3 separate regions of the Homo sapiens genome follow, and regions 2 and 3 are each linked to region 1. The links are contacts of gene promoters, found by promoter capture Hi-C in human tissues and cell types (Jung and others, 2019). All regions are on one chromosome and are shown on one strand. Each heading gives the region's core, a stretch centred on a gene start or on the middle of the fragment in contact. The rest is flanking DNA. Distances are from core to core; before and after follow the strand shown. Region 1 holds the start of B4GALT5 (beta-1,4-galactosyltransferase 5). Region 2 overlaps SPATA2 (spermatogenesis associated 2). Region 3 overlaps SLC9A8 (solute carrier family 9 member A8).

Evidence for each region. Contacts are between HindIII fragments. The study calls those that stand out against the background at their distance.
Region 2: a fragment that was not itself captured here is called in contact with the fragment with the promoter of B4GALT5 in region 1 in 1 of the 25 tissues and cell types used here (spleen).
Region 3: a contact is called between a fragment that was not itself captured here and the fragment with the promoter of B4GALT5 in region 1, in 2 of the 25 tissues and cell types used here (dorsolateral prefrontal cortex and mesendoderm cells).

Annotation. Positions count from the first base shown.
Region 1 is chr20:49,712,477-49,715,226 of GRCh38, forward strand. B4GALT5 (beta-1,4-galactosyltransferase 5) reads right to left here and starts at 1,402. Exons shown (of 9, transcript NM_004776.4): 1 at 1,100-1,402. The coding sequence starts at 1,214. RefSeq lists silencers at 875-994, 1,285-1,614. The HindIII fragment of the contact is 30,885 bases long and covers 1-2,750 here.
Region 2 is chr20:49,910,589-49,913,338 of GRCh38, forward strand. The region is part of intron 1 of SPATA2 (spermatogenesis associated 2); the gene reads right to left. Among named protein-coding and RNA genes, the nearest start is that of SPATA2, 3.6 kb to the right of the region's middle. The HindIII fragment of the contact is 3,455 bases long and covers 1-2,750 here.
Region 3 is chr20:49,874,506-49,877,255 of GRCh38, forward strand. SLC9A8 (solute carrier family 9 member A8) reads left to right here. Exons shown (of 16, transcript NM_015266.3): 11 at 200-316. Among named protein-coding and RNA genes, the nearest start is that of MIR12122, 12 kb to the left of the region's middle. The HindIII fragment of the contact is 4,147 bases long and covers 1-2,750 here.

The sequences.
Region 1 (2,750 bases), core at 152-2,651:
GGAGGGTCAGTTTCTCCAGAGACCGCCTTTCCTTTAAAGGATAAGACTTTGAAAAGAAGGAGTACCCATTACATCTTTCCTCCATGCTCCCCCTTCTCACCTGGTACCATTTCCCAAAGGCCCCAATCATATCCCCTTCTCTACGGACAATTTAAACTTCTCCTTTGTCCGCAGAGCAGGCACTATCCAATACTGAAGAACCACACCATCTACCCTCAAGGCTAGGAGAGGGCAGAAGTGGAAGAAAGAACACAGACAGCACCCCTTCCCCAGGTCTTCAGTTGAGAAAGAAGCTGTGGCTGAAAGTCTGGGGGGCTGGGGGCAAAGGTGACAAGGATGTGCCCTTGTGGGTACGCGAGGTGGGGGGGGGGGAGATGGGGAAGAGGCATGGGACGCTCAGGGGATTAGCAGGAGATTGAATGGGGGTGGACCTCTGTAAGGGGAAGGGGGGTGCCACCGGCAGGCAGAGAGATCAGGCCACTGAAGAGGTGAACGTGAGTTAGGGAGGAGGACCTGGAGGTGGATGTAATAGGGGAAGTAGAGGAAGAAAGGGGAGGGAGGGGGCTCACGGGAGCAGGAAACGATGGAGTCATGGGGAGTGGGGGAGGATGGATGGGAGCTAGAAGGTGGGGCGGCCTGGGACCCGGGCACATGGGCTCGGCGAAGAGCGGGCGCGCCGCGGGGGACTGGGGTGCGGGGAATGCCGGGAATGGGGGTTCGAGGAGACCCCGGGGAAGGGAAGGGGAAGCGGGAGTTCTCGAGCAGAGGAGCGGGAAGTGGGAGTTCCAGCGAGGCAAGAGCGGGAAGGGGGTTCCGGAGCAAGGGGCGGGCGTGAAGGTACAGTCGGGTTCGCGAGGGTGGCGTTAGGAGGGGCGGGGTGGGCCGGAGGCTGGCGCGGGAGAGGGATCCCGGGCGCCTGTTGGGGTGCGGAGGGCAGGAATGTCCTGGCGTCCCCGAGAGCCGGGCCAGGACTCCGGAGTCTTCGGAGGACCAGGCTCAGGGCCGCCTCCCGGCCGGGGCCCCTTAGGGAGGGGCGGGGATTCCCCGGGTCCCTCAAGGCCAGAGCGGCAGCCGCCGCGGTCCCAAGCCCCCTTCCTACCTATGCCGGGCGCCACATAGACGAAGTACAGCAGCGAGGACGAGAGAGAAAAGAAGAAGAGCGCGGCGAGCAGCGAGCGGCGCGGCAGCCGCAGCAGCCCCCGGCGGGCGCGCATGCTGCAGCCAGGCGGCCGCTAGAGAGCCAGGCCGGGCCTGCTCCCGCAGCTCCCCGTCCGCCGCCTCCTGGGCCGCCGCCGCCACCGCCTGGGCCTCGGCCACCGCCTCCCGGGCCTCGCGGGCCGCCACTCGCCGCCGCCGCCGCCTCGCCGCTCCCAGCCGCCGGCCGTCGCGGGCCGGGCCACATGAAGCGGGCGGGGGCCAGAGCGGCCCCGAGCGGGCGCAGCGGCGGGGGCGGAGGCGGGGCGCACGCGCGGGAGGCGGGGCCAGTGCCGCCGGGCACCGTCGCAAAAGACCCGCGCGCTTGCGCTCGCCGCCGACCCTCGCTCGGCGCCCACAGCAGCCCGCATGGAGTAATCGCCAAATGGCGACAGACCCTCTCCCAGTGCGGCCACCGCCCAGGCTTTCGGGGAATGTCTCCCAAGTGCTCCGCGCTAGCTCGTCCCCCATCTCGGGGGCCAAGGGGCCATCTACAAAGTCTGACTCATCTCGTTGCCCACTGCAGCAGAAGAGTGGGGACTGCAAGGCTTGGGGGTTCGGCCTGGTATACACCCTCATTCATTCATTCATTCATTCATTCAATTCACCATTTATTTATTGAATGCCAGACACAGTTGTTGGCGCTGGGCATGCTACAGAGAAAAAAAACGATAAAAATCTCTGTCTACTTGAAACTTACATTATGTGAGAGATAAAAGAAACAAATCAGCTAGTAATATCAGGTACTGGTAACACATATGAATACGATAAAACAGGAGGATGTATTGCAGGCAGGCTGGAGTGGTCAAGGAAGGCCTCACTGAGCAGTGACACGAACTGAGATATAAAAGGGTGAGAAAGCGCCAGCTTTTTTGAATAAGCTGGGGAAAAAGCAGTCATACCAGGGGGAACAGCAGGTGTAAAGGCCCTGAGGTAGGAAAAGGGCTGATCTGCCCCCGAGTTGAATCCAAGGCCAACATGGATAAAATCCAGTGAAGTAGGGGGGGAAATAGGGATGAGCTTGGAGCTGTAGTCAGGGATCCTACTGTATCAGAAATAGCATAATGATAACAATTGTCAATGTCTCTAGACTTCTGCTGAGAAACATGGACTTCACTCATGCCATGAAATTCCCCCACCAGTCTTGAGATGTGTGCTGTTATTATTACTATCATACAAATGAGGAAACTGAGGTTTCTAGATGGAAAGGCAATTCACCCAAGCCTTGCAGTAAGGGCTTAAATCAAAACTGGCCTGTCTCCCATGTCAGGCCCTTGACCTCTAGGTTGTAACTGTCTCAGCAGTCTGTATGACCTCTAATTCTTATCCTGCAGGCAAATCGGTATCCTATCCCCATCACCTGGGTATGGGACCATATCCAAAAAAATGCTTTCAGATCAGCATCAGCTCAAAGGACCTCAGAAGGCAATGAACAGTCCTAGAAATTTATGGCAAGAAGCAGTAGCCTCAAGGAGCTGGACTGAGGAGGCCAGTGTCCCTGTGTAGACATATCTGAAACTAGGGTACTGTCTTGGAATGCCAGAAGCAGTGGGGAG
Region 2 (2,750 bases), core at 69-2,568, 200 kb after region 1:
ACAGCAAGGGGCTGAGAGAAGCTGCAGCAGGACTGGGCCTGGCATGTGGGGGACTCCTTTAGCAGACCTGTGTTCAGCTAGGAAGGTCCTACGAGCCCAGCAACTATCAGGAGGTCAACAAAATCATCCTCATCTCAAAGAGCCAGTAGTCTGGCTCCTCCACAGATTTTGTCCCCAGGAGGAGACTCCTGGGAGTACTAATGGTGCGGTGAGAGGTGGGATGTGTAGCAAAACTAGGGACACAGAGAGGCCACTGTCTCCAACACACTGCACTGCTGAGGGAGCCCAGTGCTACAGTGACAAATAAGGCTGAGGAGTACAGGAGGCAAACACATCCATTTAGGGGCCAGGTGCGGGGGCTCACGCCTGTAATCCCTAAACTTTGGAAGGCCAAGGCAGGAGGATTGCTCAAGGCCAGGAGTTCGAGACCAGCCTGGGCAACATAGCAATACCCTGTCTTTACAAAAGAAAACAAAATCCACTTGGGATAAAATTCTGCTTCAGGAAGATTCTCATCATTCAGGCCTCAGCTCAAACATCAGCCTCTAGAGGTACCACCCTATCTCACCTTCCCAGTTCCACACTGTCACATTCTCCTACGATAACCACAATCTGAAACTATCAACTTCATTCATTCATTAGCTTCCTCTCTTTGTCCACCCCTCACCCTCCCTGGTAAGCTGGTAAGCTCGTGGTAAGCTCCATAAAGGCAAGGACCATGTCTGTGTTGTTCACCACGATGCCTAACACAGAGCCTGCCTGTGCTTGATAAAGTAGGTGAAATGGATGCTGCAGCCAGGCACGGTGGCTCACGCCTGTAATCTTAGCACTTTGGGAGGCCGAGGCAGGTGGATTGCCTGAGCTCAGGAGTTCGAGACCAGCCTGGGCAACACGGTGAAACCCCGTCTCTACCAAAATTTAAAAAAAAATTAGACGGGTGTGGCAGCATGCGCCTGTAATCACAGCTACTCGGGAGGCTGAGGCAGGAGAATTGCTAGAACCCAGGAGGCGGAGGCTGCAGTGAGCCGAGATCGCCCCATTGCACTCCAGCCTGGGCAACAGAGCGAGACTCCGTCTCTAAAAAAAAAAAAAGAAAAAGAAAAAGAAAAGAGAAAAAGAGAAATGGATGCTGCAAAGGATGTCTGCATTCACGATGCCATCACTTTAGTTTCTCATTGGTACCTCCCAAGAATCCTGGGAGATCAGCTGGAGAGCAAAGAAACGGGCTCAGAAAGATGGCATGAGGTACGACAAGTAGCTCAAGGTTAGCAGATGATGGACCCGATAATCCAAGCCTGGCCTTCTGACTTGGAACCTGTATTCCTCTCACCACCCCACGATTCCCATGTCCAGCAAGCATTTCTGCAGCCCCCACCCTCTGCCTGAGCTGGACCCAGTCGGGGAATGGGGATGGGTGGGACAGGTAGAGGACAGCAATAAAGGAGACACATCCTGCCTGCAGCTCTAGCTGGAAGAGCATACCACCTAGTATCAAAGTAGGTATGTGCTCTAACTTCATACTGTTCTGTCCATAAAAAAATAAACAATTTAAAATGTATATTCTCTTAAAAAATAAAAATGCAGGCCAGGCGCGGTGGCTCACGCCTGTAATCCTACAACTCTGGGAGGCCAAGGTGGGTGGATCGCCTGAGATTGGGAGTTTGAGACTAGCCTGGCCAACATAGCGAAACCCCGCCTCTACTAAAAATACAAAAATTAGCTGGACGAACACCTGTAATCCCAGCTACTCAGGAGGCTGAGGCAGGAGAATGGCGTGAACCCAGGAGGGAGAGGTTGCAGTGAGCTGAGATCGTGCCATTGCACTCCAGCCTGGGCAACAGAGCAAAAACTCCATCTCTACATAAATAAATGTATTGCACCACTGGAGAGGATAGTCACACATGCATTTACCATTCTTGACTTATCTAAGAGAAGCTGCCATCACGCCTCTGGCCCCAGGGTCTGTTTTTTGGTAGTCTGAGAACCATTCAAACACAGAGACATTAAGCTTCCGAATACTGCTGTAATTTTTCTCCAAGGAAGTCAGCCTTGAACTCAAAGAGACTGATTTTTTACAAAGTCAGCCAGTCTCAAGCTCGGCTCAGCGTCTGCTGCTCTATAATCGCACCACAGTCCACACCCTTGTTTGTTGCTGAAAAACAATAAATAAAGGAAAGGGATCCAAACAGCCCAGCTGATGTTCAAAATACTCACAATAAGGACAGGAAGCCTATCTAAAACAAATCTCAAACCAACCTGGGTAGGTGAGGGAAAAGGCGGAAGAAAGTAAAAGCTAAAAGATAATTAAGGGCAAGACAAGCCTGGACAACATAGTTAGACTCCGTCTCTACAAAAAAAAAAAAAAAAAAAATTAGGTGGGTGTGGTGACACCCACCTGTAGTCTTAGCTACTTGGGAGTCTGAGGTGGGGGGATCCACTGAGCCCAGGAGTTTGAGGCTGCAGTGAGCTATGATGGCACCACTGCACTCCGGCCTGGGTGACAGAGCAAGACCTTGTCTCAATCAGTCAATAAGGAAAGGAAAGAAAGAGACTAACAATTACTGAGGTTCTACTATGTGCTAAGCATTGGGCTTCCCACTTTACCTACATCATCCCATTTAATCCTCACAACTCTATAAGGAAAACAGGCTCTTCCCATTAAAACAACCTGCCCAACAGAGTTTGAAAGGGTCAGAGCTGGAATCTGAACTCTTGCTGGGAGGCCCTTGATGCCTGGGCTTTCTCCAATT
Region 3 (2,750 bases), core at 180-2,679, 160 kb after region 1:
ACCCAGCTAGTAATGAGGCTGCCAGAGCGAAGGGACCCATAGTATTTTTTCTGAAGCCTCTGGGAGGCTTCAGGAATTCATTTATTTTCCTTTTTCTTAAACCCTCTAATGCTCTAGGCCCCAGGGCCTTGCAGGCATTGTGAGATCTGAGTTGGGGATCACACGGCAGTGCTTTCTGTTCTGTTCTCTCCCTCTCTAGGCATCATGGCCATCCTTTTCTCAGGCATCGTGATGTCCCACTACACGCACCATAACCTCTCCCCAGTCACCCAGATCCTCATGCAGCAGACCCTCCGCACCGTGGCCTTCTTATGTGGTGAGTTCTGCTTCTGTGTGGCCGTGAGCAGGCCCACCCAGAGCTGATCTTGCTTCCTTATCCTGTTTGAGAAGTCAGTTGAGACTTTCCCTGGCAGCAGGGCAGCAGCTCCTCAGAGCCAGATCCCTCACTCCCTTATCTTTTGTTTGTTCCTCTGGCTTTGAAATTTCATAAAGTAAACCAAACACCTAATAAATGAACATCTGGCGCCTACAATTTAAAGACCAAAAATAGTGAGAACCAATTATGAACATTTGATACATGCATTTTTAATGTATTAATGTGACATTTCCAAAAATGTATTCCTTGGAAATAAAATATTAATGATGGTTTGGTGAAAATGGCTCCATAGTCAAGCAAGGCATGGGGCTCACACCTGTAATCCCAGCTGCTTGGGAGACTGAGAGGATCACTTGAGCCCAGGAGTTCAAGGCTGCAGTGGGCTATGATCTTAAAAAAAAAAAAAAAAAGAAAGAAAGAAAAACAAAGCTTTTGTAGTCAAACAAGAGTTTAGGAAATCCTGGTTAAATAAAGTTTAACATTTATGAATTGCCAGACTTTTCAGCAAATAATGGATTGTCAAATCCTTAACGGGGGATATAGTTATAGAATTTTCCAAACTTGTCCACAGAATCCTTTATTCACAAGAGCAGCCTGAGGGACATCACTCGGGGACAGTTCGCAGTAGAGGTGTCATTTGTTGGGCTGGGATAAACCACGATGGCTTTGTCTTTAAGCAGTTTGTTCAAGTTCTTGTTCCCCCACGCTCCGACATACCCATGTATCTCCCCACCAACTTTATACTTGGAAGTGGTTGGAGTCGGGGAACAGCTCTCACCATGTCCCTTTAAGCTGGCCCCCAAGTGACTTTGCCCTAGCTGTCATCAAAATCACCCCTGGCATTTTGAGGGACTTGTCTCTTTTTTTTTTTGAGATGGAGTCTTGCTGTGTCGCCCAGGCTGGGGTGCAGTGGCGTGATCTCAGCTCACTGCAAGCTCCGCCTCCCGGGTTCATGCCATTCTCCTACCTCAGCCTCCGGAGTAGCTGGGACTATAGGTGCCCGCCACCATGCCTGACTAATTTTGTTTTTTGTATTTTTAGTAGAGACAGGGTTTCACCGTGTTAGCCAGGATGGTCTCGATCTCCTGACCTTGTGATCCACCTGCCTCGGCCTCCCAAAGTGCTGGGATTACAGGCATGAGCCACCGCACCCGGCCACTTGTCTCATTTTTAATTGCTACTTCCACACTGTTAGCGTGCTAGGAGGCAAAGGCAACCCAGGCAGAAACTTCAGCAGATAAGGAGGCTCAGGTGAGGAGTAGTCACATGACTTGCCCATGGTCTCATGGCCAAGAAGTGGGTATGCAGGCCAGGTCTCTTTATTCCTGGGCCAGAGGGTATTATTTGTACAGCACCTCTCTCAGAAAGCCAGGCTACAGATTCTGACCCTGAGCCTCCCAGTTAAAGACACATAAAGCAAATCGTCCATCCAAAAAGATTCTATTTTGTACCCAGCAGTTTGGCAAATGTTAAGTTTGATAATACCCACTTCTGGCCTTGGCGTGTGGAAAACAGGCCTACTGGAATCTTTTCTGGAGAGTCATTTGCCACGTCTGTCTGAATTTAAAAGGCACGTGCTCTTTGGCCCAACAGTCCAACCCTGTGGAATTTAGCCCATACTGGGGTGTTTGTTGAACCTCTCAGAAATAAAAACAGTCTAAATATCCATCCATAGAGGATTGGGCATTAGAAAAATTGTCGAATTTTGACAATTTGTCAAATGTGACAGAAAAACTGTCAAATTTCTCTGCAAATAAACATTATCCCGCCAAGGGAAGATGATAAACACAATTCTGCCTGTTTACTGAACACCTTCATTAGCAAGGGTCCCAACTGTGGCAAAGTGGCAGAAATTCAGAGCAAATGGATACCGTGATGTATCCAGATCCTGGAGTTGATGCTGCCAGGGAAAAGCATCCACTAGATCTGAATGTCTTCTAAATGTGCTCATTTGGAAAGATCACACAAATATTAGATAAGAAAAAAATTTCAGAGAGAGAAGGGGGGGTAAATTCTCCAGCTTGTGGACTTGTTTTAAACTTGGGTACCATTCAAAGGAAAAACATTGTTAGAATGTAAAACAGCCTTGCTGTTTGTGATCAACTATTTTAAAATACAGTTTTAGGCCAGGCGCGGTGGCTTATGCTTGTAATCCCAGCACTTTGAGGGGGGCCAAGGTGTGCGGATCACAAGGTCAGGAGTTTGAGACCAGCCTGGCCAACACAGTGAAACCCTGTCTCTACTGAAAAAAAAAAAAAAAAAAATAGCTGGGCGTGGTGGCGAGCGCCTGTAATCCCAGCTGCTTGGGAGGCTGAGGCAGGAGAATTGCTTGAACCCAGGAGGCGGAGGTTGCAGTGAGCCGAGATCGTGCCAC